2 separate regions of the Homo sapiens genome follow, and region 1 is linked to region 2. The links are contacts of gene promoters, found by promoter capture Hi-C in human tissues and cell types (Jung and others, 2019). All regions are on one chromosome and are shown on one strand. Each heading gives the region's core, a stretch centred on a gene start or on the middle of the fragment in contact. The rest is flanking DNA. Distances are from core to core; before and after follow the strand shown. Region 1 overlaps KCNT2 (potassium sodium-activated channel subfamily T member 2). Region 2 holds the start of KCNT2 (potassium sodium-activated channel subfamily T member 2).

The links. Contacts are between HindIII fragments. The study calls those that stand out against the background at their distance.
Region 1: a fragment that was not itself captured here is called in contact with the fragment with the promoter of KCNT2 in region 2 in 1 of the 25 tissues and cell types used here (adrenal gland).

What each region holds. Positions count from the first base shown.
Region 1 is chr1:196,566,371-196,572,967 of GRCh38, reverse strand. The region is part of intron 1 of KCNT2 (potassium sodium-activated channel subfamily T member 2); the gene reads left to right. Among named protein-coding and RNA genes, the nearest start is that of MIR4735, 13 kb to the left of the region's middle. The HindIII fragment of the contact is 3,657 bases long and covers 1,300-4,956 here.
Region 2 is chr1:196,604,488-196,610,706 of GRCh38, reverse strand. KCNT2 (potassium sodium-activated channel subfamily T member 2) reads left to right here and starts at 2,267. Exons shown (of 28, transcript NM_198503.5): 1 at 2,267-2,492. The coding sequence starts at 2,398. RefSeq lists an enhancer at 1,416-1,932. The HindIII fragment of the contact is 13,382 bases long and covers 1-6,219 here.

The DNA of each region.
Region 1 (6,597 bases), core at 1,879-4,378, 39 kb after region 2:
TCTATTTAAACCTGAGACACTAGAGTCCCTTTCTATTTTCTTCTCCATGTATATGGAGTAGAACTCATTAAAGTTTTCTGAGAAGCAGGTAAGTGTCATCATGCATCAAGAAACAACTGGAAATTATATGTTAGACATTCTTACTCCATAAAAGCTTTTGCAGCAACTCTTCTGTTGTTGGTTCCTATGCGTTAATTCATTCTACAAAGTTCCTCAGTAAATGTTCTCCTCTTCATCAGATTTTATTGAAAGTCTACATTAACCTACTATCTAAATGCATCATAGTACTCAATAAAATATAGCAACTTTTCAATAATAGTATCCATCACCCTTAGAAAGCCTTTGCATTCCATGATAATGATGACCTACAAGTAATCCCACCCAAAGTGGTGATAGTGAATAGGAATTGCTGACAAAATGGCAAAACGTATGCAGTTCTCTCTTTTGAATACTTTTTCCTTAGCCTTCTCTGATTCACTTCATTGCACTCTCTCTCTCTTTATCTCCTAGAAAGCCAAGATTAAGACATCTAAGTTTCCTTTTTGTGTGTTGTTATCAAAGTCTGCCTTCTTTCCTAGATGCTGAGCGAGATCCTCACTCACTACTTACAGTGACTAGGTCATCACACCAACATCTACTACTACCCAAGTTTAGGCTACTACTCTTGAGCTGGAGGATCTTATGCCAGGTGGAGATTTCCCTATACTGAGAGAAGTTCCAGGTCTCTAGTGGATCTTCATATTGAATCCAAAACTTGAACTGGCAAGGTTTAATTTTGGTGAGAAGGTTGGATGAATTCTCAGAATATGTCACTACCTTACTCTCTTATTTTATAGCCAAGGTTTGCTACCATTTGGAAGAGATGAAATGGTGAACAGCATGTGCTCATGAGCATTTCTCAGTAGAATCTGAGCCTTATGTGAGACAAGAGGACAAAGGTGTACATAGAACCATTTCTTTCATGGTATTGAGAGGTTGCCTTTCAGGTCCTGCTTCTTACTTTTAAAACCTCCTTTAAGCAGATTTTAACACCTGCACAATCAAGGTCATATTTTCAGAATGGAAGCACATTACCAAATATATATACCATTTCTACTGCTGAAATAAAACAACTGATATTTCTGTTTCATGAAATCTCAAGAACTCACATCACTTCTCCATGAACACACCTCATTCTCTACTGAGCTGACCCTTTCTGTGGAAGAATTTCTGCATGTCTAGGGGAATAATGAATCTGCTGGATCTCTGGAAACATAGATCTCAGAAGCCCTATATCTTCCCCTGAATTTGTACCATTTGGACTCTAGTTTGATATGCATTAGGGCATGATTGATCTGTTGATCACAATTACCTTGTTTATAGACAAGTGTTCCACAATAGAGGTAAACTAATCAATATGGTTAATGACCAGGAATCCAGATGTCTTTTAAGAACAATTTTGACTTGTATTGACAAACTAACTTAACTTCAGTCCCTTGGAGATCAAAAATTGCACATGAAAGGGCTTCTTATATTCATTCTCACATTTCTTTCAGCTCTCTGTTTCAGTTGGATTTCAATGCTATTATATTCTGGGATGTTTTCTGAAGATAGCCTTACCTCTCTCATTCTTTCTCCTTTAGAATATCTTGGGCACAGAAAAGTTTGGGGAATTTTTCAGTTCTTGTCTCATGCTGCCTAAATTCTTCCAACAGATACTGTAAATGGACCCCTAAGCATTTTTTTCTAATTGAACTTATTCCTCTATTTTCTGTTTAATGCTAATATGCCATCCATATCTTTGCAAAAATATCTATTCTTAAAACATCTATTATTTCAACAAATATGTGTTGAGCATGTCTCAGGTACTATGAGATACTATTTAATGTGTTGAAGTCATACAAAATAAGTAAAGATTTCTGCCTTTATGGGGCTTACTTCTTAGTGGGGAGGGGAAGATGAACTAATATAGGTAGTCTGCCATATGGGACATATTAGAACAGTGTGGTAGGAGTAGGCCAGGAGAGTGAGCTGTCTGTTCATGTAACTTACTTGTGCCTTAATGGCACTTATGTTAGAGGAAATAAAGACTTGATTTTTTAGTGGAATAGGTCAGATGCAGCTAGTTAGTTATGGGCAACTGTTTTTTAATTGTTTATTAAGATGAACTCTCTGTGTTCTGTGGTCAGACCTTTAATCTTCATCAAGATCCAGTAGCAAGTAAGAATCTATCTAGCTGTTTCTGAAAAGGACAGTAGTTACTCACCTAAGAAGTGAGAATCCTAGGCATCCCCATTATGTTCTTTTTATGAAGGCTTGTATATTCTGTATAGCACCCTAATCTGCTGTAGACTCTTTGAGTATCATTGCATCTGCCAGTTTATAACATGTATAAAGTATTTCTTGTTTAGAGAATCCTACTTTGAGTAGGATTAGAGTAGGATTCTCTACTCATAGTTTCAAGCTTTTCAGTTTACTTGGTATTGTGTCAGAGTATAACACCAATATGTGATATGAAAGTGTTGGGATGAGGTTCCCACAAGTATGTCTAACTCTCTTCCTTTGCACATTTTCAGATTCTTTTCTTTATATTGTGATACAGTTTTTTCCAATTGTTTTAAAGTCAGGTTTACTCAGGCAAAATTAAAATTATGTAATCAAATGCACTGTGAAAATCTACCAACACATAATTTAAAAAAATTAAACAATAAGAATATCAAATTCCAACAATTCCTCAAATTGGGATTATTTCATACTTACTGCATTTCACCCAAAAAGCAGGTTATTCTTGCTGTTGTTACTGTTTTTGGTTGCTTTTAGTGGAATGAAGTGTTGTCTCAAATGTCCTTGCCTATCATTACACAAAGCCTCCATACTCAAAGGCCTTTAATTTTTTTTTTTTTTTTTTTTTTTTTTTTTTTACTCTAGCTCAAGCTTCCTGGACTCAGGAGGCTTTTTGTTGGTTAGAACTTCTTAGCATAGCAGAAGTTTCCTGTAGCCCTTGAGTGACTTTGGTTAACTTGGTTGAAAATTTCCCCCAATCTCTACACCTTTCTTCACCCCTAGAAGTTGTTTATCTACCTCATAATCAAAACAAAAGCATGCCTTTATTTTTAATAGAAATTTCTAGCAGCATATGTAATCTTAGTCTTTTAGCTTTCTTTCCAATCTGGCCAATTTGGGCGAACATAAACCCCAGTTGCTTAGGTATGAATAGGGACTTGCAGTATGAGGGCTGCCATTCTCTTCCTTCAGCCCTGCCTTTCCTGTTATCCTTTTGAATTAATTTCATTAACAAAATGAATTCAGAGGGTTTTTTTTAGCTCTCTCCAGAAGTCTGAACTCCCTCAGCACTGTTTTGCCATAAATAGCTATAGCAGTAAGTTGTTCCAAATGATCCTGAAGAAATCTATAAAATTTAACTGGTACATATCAAATAGAGACTGAAACAAATGAAATGATAGCTTTATCCTAATGTTGTGACCAAATATCAGATAAATTCACAGCTTTATTTCAATCCCAATAAAAGTTAAATATTTTTTATTGAAAATCAACATAACACTATCAAATTAATCTGAAACATAAATGTTGAGAATATGAGGTCATTTTTAAAAATAGGAACAGACACTGCCAAATATTAAGGCATATTTTAAAAAGACAATGTGTTTTTTAAAAAATATTTTATTCAAAGTAAATTTAGAAATTATTAAAACAATATGATCCTGAAATGATAGGAAGTTAACTTGCAGTTAGAACTTGCAGTTAGAAGTAATCAATTAACTTGAAAGAAATAAATTAAAAAATATAACAACATAAAAATCAAATTAACTTAAAATTTTTCAACAGATTAAGAGGCTAAATTAAAATAAAATCTTAGAAAAAGTAGGAGAAAGTAGAAATTGATATTTAAGATATCAAGAAAAGGATGGAAATCCTTTAGGAATAAATTTGTAATAGCAATGATTCACACTCACAGCAATGATGAGTGACTCCTGCCTCATCCATTGTCCTGGATTATTGCTTCTTTAAAGGAACAGAAAGTTATCACAAGAGAGCACATCAATAGATTTTACCGTACAGAGTTCTTTGAACCAACAGCTATGAATTTTTTCTCTGTGTGCCAAGCATAGTGTCTTTCTGGCATGCATTCAACCAGTATTTACTATTTGCTTCAATTATGTTGGAACCTGGAGAGAAAAAAAAAAAAAGCTCATTATTAACATAAACCAGGGGTCCCCAGCCTCAGGACCACTGACCAATACTGGTCTGTGGCCTGTTAGGAACAGCGCCACACAGCAGGAGGTGAGTTGCCAGAAAAAGAGCATTACCACCTGAGCTCCGCCTCCTGTCAGATCTGTGGTGGCGTGTTTTTCTTTTCTTTTTTTTTTTTTTTGAGACGGAGTCTAGCCCTGTCGCCCAGGCTGGAGTGCAGTGGCGCGATCTCTGCTCACTGCAAGCTCCGCTTCCCGGGTTCACTCCATTTTCCTGCCTCAGGCTTCCGTGTAGCTGGGACTATAGGCGCCGGCCACCACACCCGGCTAATTTTTTGTATTTTGTTTAGTAGAGACGGGGTTTCACCGTGTTAGCCAGGATGGGCTCGATCTCCTTATCTCGTGATCCGCCCGCCTCGGCCTCCCAAAGTGCTGGGATTACAGATGTGAGCCACCGTCCTGGCCATGTGGCATTAGATTTTTATAGAAGGGCGAACCCTATGTGAACTGCACATACAAGGGATCTAGGTTGCGAGCTCCTTATGAGAATCTGATGCCTGATGATCTGGGGTGGAACAGTTTCATCCCGAAACCATCTCTACCACCATTTGTCTTTCATGAAACTAGTCTCTGGTGCCAAAAAGGTTGGGGACCGTTGACATAAATAACACACTTTAATGTGTGGTAAATGCAGATGGAGATTTACTGGGTATTAAGAGAGAGCAGACAAAAGATACTTAACCCAGTTGAGATCAAGTCTTAGGATTTTTTGGTTTTGTTTCATTGCTTCCTTAGAGGTGATGACTTCTATGCTGCAATATTAGAGCTGCTAAGAATTGTGAAAAAGACCCCAAGCACATAAATTGAAACCTAATGCTAAAGGCAGAGTGTTATCCTGAAGGCAATCAAAGTATTGGATAAAGAAAGGTTCCAGTACTGAGGGATAGTTAGAGATGTAAATGCTGTTCAGCAATTCTGCTGCTGTTTTCCATATCCTATTTCCTACATAAGCCCTTTTGAAATGCTCTCTTCTCTCCTCAGCCGTCCTTCACCACCTTTATCTCTTTCTCCACAGAACATCTAACTTTTCACTTCAGGGATGTGACAGAAGCCATCACACAGAAGAACTCCCTTAAGTTCTTGTAACAACATCTAAATGAACATAGTCCCATGTGAATTGCTCATGACAAAAGTAAGAGCTATTCTTCCAGATAATGAATAATATGCCTTCTCTGGACCTCATCTTTTGTACTTCCTGATGGATCCCAACCATCAGTTATCCATCCTGTTTCTAAAAATTATGAAAGAAAAAATAGAAGATCCGAGATTTATGCTGACAACAGCACTTGCTATTCAACCTTATCATGCAGGGACTTAAATGCAATGTGATCAGAAGGTTAGACTTCAGGGAGGAGTGGACATTTGATCTTTGCCCTTGACAGATAAGGAGATTTTGATGAGGTTACACTGAGAAGAAAGCATAGTGGTCTAGTAGATGGAAGAGGGCATAGGAAAGAGAGTTGTGTTCAAGAAATGCTACATAGTCTAGTGTAGATTATTTAAAACATTAACGTTCAAGTAGAGGAGGAGTGAGAGATATGGCTGAAATATAGAGTGAACTGTTCTATAATGGACCATGGTAATTAAGGAATTCATATTTAATTTTGTAATTAATATGCATCAAGTAAAGTTTTTGATTAAGAACTATATAGATAATAACTTTCAACTGATGTCATATGATTCTTGCATTTATTTGTGTATTTATTGATGCATTTTAGTACATATTTGAGTTTATAGATCTTGTTTGTATTTGTTGATTGATTTTGCAAGGTATTATATGAAACATTTGAAGTATATAATGAAAACCTAGCAAGATTTTTATCTTGGCTTAAAAAACAATCTTGTAATAGAATAAAGTACTAAATCTAATAATTTATTTATATGCCTTCTATACTTTTCTCCTGGAAGGTACCCATATTAACTTGACATCTTTATAAGGCATTCATTTGCCACATTTTGCTATGGTGATATACAAAATTTCCTTCTTATTTCTGAAGCAATGTCCTTTAAATAACTTTGTTACTTGGTACTAGCATGGTAAAACTATAAAAACAGTTTATTCATTGTGAAACTATGGGTAAACTTCCATTTAGTTTTCATAAAATTTTCCTTTTTGTCCATTCTCTCTCCCACCACCTTAATCTACCTTTTACTACTTCACACCTGACGTATGGAGAGGGCCTCCCAAGATGTTACTTTCCTTTTCCAACCCATTTGATTAATCTTGCACACAATTGCCATGTTCCTACTCATAAACATATCTTTGAATATGTCATTTCTTATTGAAACAATTTTTATTGTGTATCCCCATTCCTTCTTCATGACTGAAAAGACACAATCTAAACTT
Region 2 (6,219 bases), core at 1,018-3,517:
TTTTTTTCTTTTTTCAGTGTCTTGATTTTTAGTCTGTTAATGATATGTAAATATTTCAGATTTTCTGTCATCCAAATAATACAGTTAGACTGTAACTATAAATATTAACTTGGAACATTACAAATAAAATTAATAGAATCATTTTAATAGGAGATGATAAGGTCTAAAATATAAACCAGATCTCTCTCTCTATCTCTATCTGTATAAACTAATAATGTAGCAATATTACTTTCTTATTTAGCAAAGTAATTACAAAAGTTCGTGCTAAATTATGATTTCATAAACAAACACATACCACAGGAGTGCAAGCATGGATGGAAAAAAACATGCTTAATTTCCTAGATTTAATAGCTTTTAATGCAACTCCACACCTATTTGTTGAAATGTGGCTATTTTGAAGGTCCCGTGCTAGAGGCAGCTAAGCCACAGGGAGAGGGGAAGAGTTGAAAGAAAAACGCACAGATAATCGTATAGCGGGTCAGGTTATAGTAAGCATTCCAGGCAAAATACTCACATGGGTTATGAAGGGTTCAAACAAAGGGGTTCAAAGGAAGAAGACATCATAAGAAGCTGGAAAAACCAAGAAATCTAATGGAGGATATGTAATTTGAGATGGGTCTGGAAGGATGAGTAGGATTTTGAAGACAGAGACAAACAGTATGACTTTTATTTCAACTGCTATTCTTCAGGTTTCAGTAGTCATTGTATTTCATTTGATGTTACAAGTTTTGGTAATTTCTTCCTTCATTTCTAGCTTCTTAAATAAACCCTCTGCTACATGACCTCTACTGAGCATTAATCATGCCAAATTAATCACTATTTTCTGGATAAGCCAAATATTCTAAAAAATCCCTATGCCTCTACTCATACTATTCTCTCTGCTTGCTTCACCTTTGCTCTTTTCCCTAAAGTAGGCTGCGAACGAATATAGAAGGCTTGGTTCATTTTCAATGTCTTCCTTGACCCCCACCTCGAAGAAGTATGTGTACCTCACAGGTATTTCCAAATCCCTCTGTATGTTCTTTGATTATTGTCTCTCACATCGTATCCATTTATCAAGGAACAAGCTTGTTCCTCCACACAGAGCGGTTCTTAAGTAAGGGCAGGAGAAGCCATATGGTTATCCTCCGGCCCAGGCTGTCAGGTGGTTGGTATTCGGTCTGTATATACTCTGATGCAATCAGTTTTTGAAGGAAAGAACGGTAAGCGCAAATAGAACCATAGCTTGTGTAGCAGGGTTCATGTAAGCAGTGGTTCTTACTGAAAAACAGACCCTGTTCTCTCGGGCTCACTTCTTCCTCCGTGTGAACCACTAATAGGAGGGGACCGAAGGCTGAGGCCAGGCCACCTGGAAGCCCACAACGCTGCTAGTAGCAGCGACAGCAGTAACAGCAACTCACCACTGTAAAATCCTCAGTGCGTTTCCATGTGCTTTCCCTGTCATCTAAATGCTTCTCTTCAGCGGCCTAAGGTGGCCCTTCTTTTTCCCCGAGTTCAGGGAAACACCTCCCTTCTTTCAGAATGTGAGAAAAAAATGGGATTTTCCTGGGGCTGAGAGTGGGGATTCCCTTTCCAGAAACGTGCAATTTTTTCATCCCGCCCACCTGGACTGAAGGCAATCAAAGCGAGGGAGCTCGTGGCATAGTGGAACACTCCAAGCACCCTGGCCCCCCTCCTCCCAGAGAAGGGTCTGGAGCCCCGCAATCCGCTAATTAGCTCGCCCCCATTGGTTGTCCCCAAGGCACCCCCGTGCCGTCACTGTGCTATGCTAATGAGGGGGAGTCTCATTGGCTGGGCCTCCAGCTCCATCTCCACAGGGAGATTGCGGGGAGAGCCGGGTTGGCCGCGTCTGGGGCCGAAACCCACCGCCCCCGATTCCCGCCAGCTCAGGGCTGTGCCGGATGCAAGCCCGCCCGAGGGAACAGTAGCCGGGAGGCTGCCCTCTGGGAGGATCTGGCAACTGCCTTTAAGGAAAGTGCTTCACCATCAAGCGGCGCTCACTCCCACCCCTCTCCCCTCTTTCTAGGCACCGCGCGTCTTTTTCGGCGAAGTAACTTTTTATACCCGCCTCCCCCTAGTCCTGGGGACCAGAGGCGGTGCCGAGCCTGGGGGCGGTTCCTTGGCAGCGTTGATTCTTGTCAGAGCCAGACTTTTGCTCCTGGGTTGGGTTTGCATCATCCCCATTACACCCTCGGGAAAGAGGAGCCAGCCCCCTTTCAAGCCTTAGCTTCCGGCTCCAAGCGGACCCCCTCCCCCTCCCTGTCCCCTTCCCCTTCTCCCATCCCTCTCTCGGCCACAGCGTCTTGTTAGTCCTCTCCCTGTACTCCGCAATATTTTCTTTCTTTCTCCCTCCTCTCCTCCATTTGTTGTTTGATGTTTCCCACTCTTTGAGGAAGGATGGTTGATTTGGAGAGCGAAGTGCCCCCTCTGCCTCCCAGGTACAGGTTTCGAGATTTGCTGCTAGGGGACCAAGGATGGCAAAACGACGACAGGTGAGTGGTGTGGTGGAGGATTGTTCTGTAAATATTGCTGAAAAAGAGACGGAAATGGGAGGGCCGAAGTGGGGAAAGGAGGGAGAAAAGGAAAACGGAGCCAGAGAGGGAGACTAGGCTGGGGGAGGGAGTAAAAGAGACTCTGATTTGTCTCTCCATTTTGACTCTATATAACTGTTGCTATAGATAAGGAACTCTTTTTCTTTACACTTTTCTTATTCTTGCAAGGTATTTATTGCATTCATTTGGTGCTTATTCTTTTGTCTATCTGTGCTTTTCTAGGATGTGTATAAGGCTGGTATCAGAGGTACAATACACCCAAATGGTATGCAATATCATTTCCAGAAAATTTGCATTTTTTCCTTAGGTGTGGTTAATCAAACTCAAAATTGCATGCAAGTTGTTTGAAAAAGCACATTAGAAACTTAAAATCTCCTGAGTCTATTTACCTCCTCCTTGTCTGTGTTGTCTTGAGTAGGTATCTACTTGGCACTGGAAATTTTATGCTGTTTAAACATTTTGGAGTTTTAAGTAGACAATTGGTTTAAATATGTAACAGGTAGTTAGTGAAAATGACAACCTTTTTAATACAATATACTCACTTTGAACAGGTGACTCTGACCATTATGAATAATGATGTTTGTATAACATGATACAACCTTTTCATAACTAGTATATTTTTTTAACTGAAACAGAATATATGTCTCAAAATTAAAATTAAGTTTCAAAACTAGAATATTTATTGTTAGCAAAATATTGTTCATGTGTTTTATTTATAGCATTACTGCTTTGCACAAACTTCTGAAATTCCTCTGTCTATTTCTGTCTCAAGCACATTTTGTATTTCAGCGAATTTAGTATTTTCTGGAATAGTCATCCCATATATCACATGCCACATTTCTTTGTTTTAAAATAATACATGTATACTAACTAGGTTCTCAACTCAATTGAAATGTTTCATTGAAGTTTAGTTTAGTATTGATGTGCTATTTTAGTTATATAAAAGATCCATTATTGGTCCAATCCAAAATCCCCTCCTCATTCACCACTGACCAATACACTCTATTTCTTTTCTTCACCTTTTCAGCTCCCAATACCAACTCCTGTCTCTACACACTGAGGATTTTATCTTGAGCATCAATTATGGGCATCTTGTTTGGTCTCATATTAGTAATTTGAAAGGAGATGGATGTTTTGTAGAGGATATTTTGGTTCAATCTCTTTTTTAGGCAAAACCACACATATTGGCTAAAAATTTAAAGAAGTAATACCAATTTCTCAGTATTCTTGTAAAGTGTTTGGGTAAACTGAAGATAAAGAAAATAATTTTTAAGTGAATTTGTAATACAAATTGACATTTAGATAAACTGCATTAGCCTGGTTAAATGGCTTAGTAAGTGTAGCATGGTGTTCCTAGTGACTGAATGTATATTTAGTTCAGGACCTCAGGATCATTATATAGAATAGAAATCCTCTTTGTAGAAAGTGTGAGATAGATTAAACACATAAAGCACATACTTTGGTTATAGTGATGGTATTGTTGTTTGTTTGTTTTAAATATCATATCCAATATGTTAATTTTCATGTGGTTGCCCTCATTTTTCTAAGGATGCTGCAGAAATATTTTAGTAATTAAGAATTTTGGTTAGTTGAACACTGCCTAAATGGATCAGTGCCATATTAAAAAAGTTTTGCAGAATGGTTAAAATTTTATGTTCTATTAAAAGGTTATGCTAGCCCAACTTTAACTTAAAAAGCAGGCCACATTTACTACTAAAATAAGTTATTAAATATTTAAAACAATCATTCAACCATTTTTAAGGATTTGGCTACTTTTGTGGCTTCATGGAAAACTATTCTTTGGTTTTGGTTCCATTTGTTGTTAATCTTTGAAGGCAAGATACTTGGAATCAGAGAAACCCAGATTCAGTCCTTGGCTGTTTCCTTCACTAGCTGAGTGGCCTTGGGAAAGTCATTCAGCCATTATGAGATTCAGCAATATTATTTTTTATAATGGGAATTATACTGTCTACCTTATAAAACTGTGACAAGAGGAAGGATGGAGAGGCGCAGAACTAACATTTAGTTGGAAATAAGTACTCCCAAGTTCTTTTAACTGTGCGGTATGTTCTTTCTTAGTTAATCCTCAGACAAACTCTGAATAGCAGGCAATTATGTTAGGCACAAGGAAACTGAAATTTTGGTAAATTAAATACGTGTCTTGGATATTATATCTTATCAGTGTAAAGATAACTCTTCAGTTCAGTTTATTATTATTCAAATCCCTCAAGAAATTCTTAAGTTCTTTTCACTTAATTTATTTGAACTTATAAGAATAATTTACAGCACCTAGCATAGTTTAGGTGCTCATTAAATATTAGTTCCCTTCTTCACTTCTGATTTGCCCTTTGCAATCCTTTTTTTCTCCCTTTTCAGACTCCTAAGCTAATATGTGGTAGGTAAAGTCATCTTCCTTGTCTATAATATGGTGACAAATTCCTCTTTGCAATTACGCCTGGATAGCAATCTCATTCTACTCAGTTATCTTCTTGGACTCAATTCTTATAGAGTTGAGGAGGAAGCCCTCTTTCATGTAGGAGTAGGTAGATCATTTCCAACAACAGATACATTTAGTGCTCTGCCCATATTCTCAAAGCAACTTTCTTTGAACACCTCCTGCATGAGGTTTTCTCCCCACCACCAACCTCAGGTGCATCCAAGTCCTGCTTGGAGAACAAGCTGGAGTGTCACTGAGTAAATAGGCTGTTTCTGAATCAATACTTTTGCTTCCTTGCTCCTTAGCTTGGAGAATTCTGAAGCATGTTCTACACTGTGTCCAAAGGGACTGAGCTCCACTTGCCCGCAGTGATAACTGGCTTAATACTGAAAGCTTTATTGGCTTCTGTCTCTCTTCTCCCCTACTGGTATTTTATCTGTGATCAATTCCCAAATGAACTGCTTTTGCTGCAATCCTATCTCAAGCTTACCTTCTGGGAGAATCTGCATCAAGATAGCTGTTTTCTGGATGTAGAGAGCCACATCCTTGTAATGATGGGGGAATTGTGTTCCAAATGTAGGAGTATAAACACTTTCTACCTTGTTCCTCACTGTAAGAATTTCAAACTCCATCTTAGGTCATAGTTGACTGGCACATGAAAATGAATGAAGCATATGATAGATGCTCAAATGGGTGTTGTTAAAGACATAATATTGATGGGCCTATTAGGTGTAGGAAATGTGTATTCCATACCATAGATTTTCTGTGAATCAACTTTGGATAAGTAGGTCATCTAAATTTATATTGTGCCACCTTTTGTGTAGGTAAAAACACATACACATACACTGGCATAATGTACATGTAATGTATATAGTGTATATGTAACAGATATGCATTGCTTTTGTAATATATGTATTATAAAATATTGTATATTGTATGCTAAAATTGTATATTATGTAATGCATCATATATTACAAATATGTGATTAATAATATATATTATAATATATGTAATGAATAGATATGTCTTTGTATTATCTTTACGCCATCCTTAGATAATTGCTTCTCTCTCATTTGCACTCTGATATCCTTTTCTGAGTAGGACATATGGGAATAGGGTTAGACACAGCAGTGCAGAGAATTTAGCACATGGATAACACTACTTCTGTGAGGCCATGAAATAAATTTGAGTTGCTAAATGAGAATATTGCTTATGTGTAGGGATGTCTTT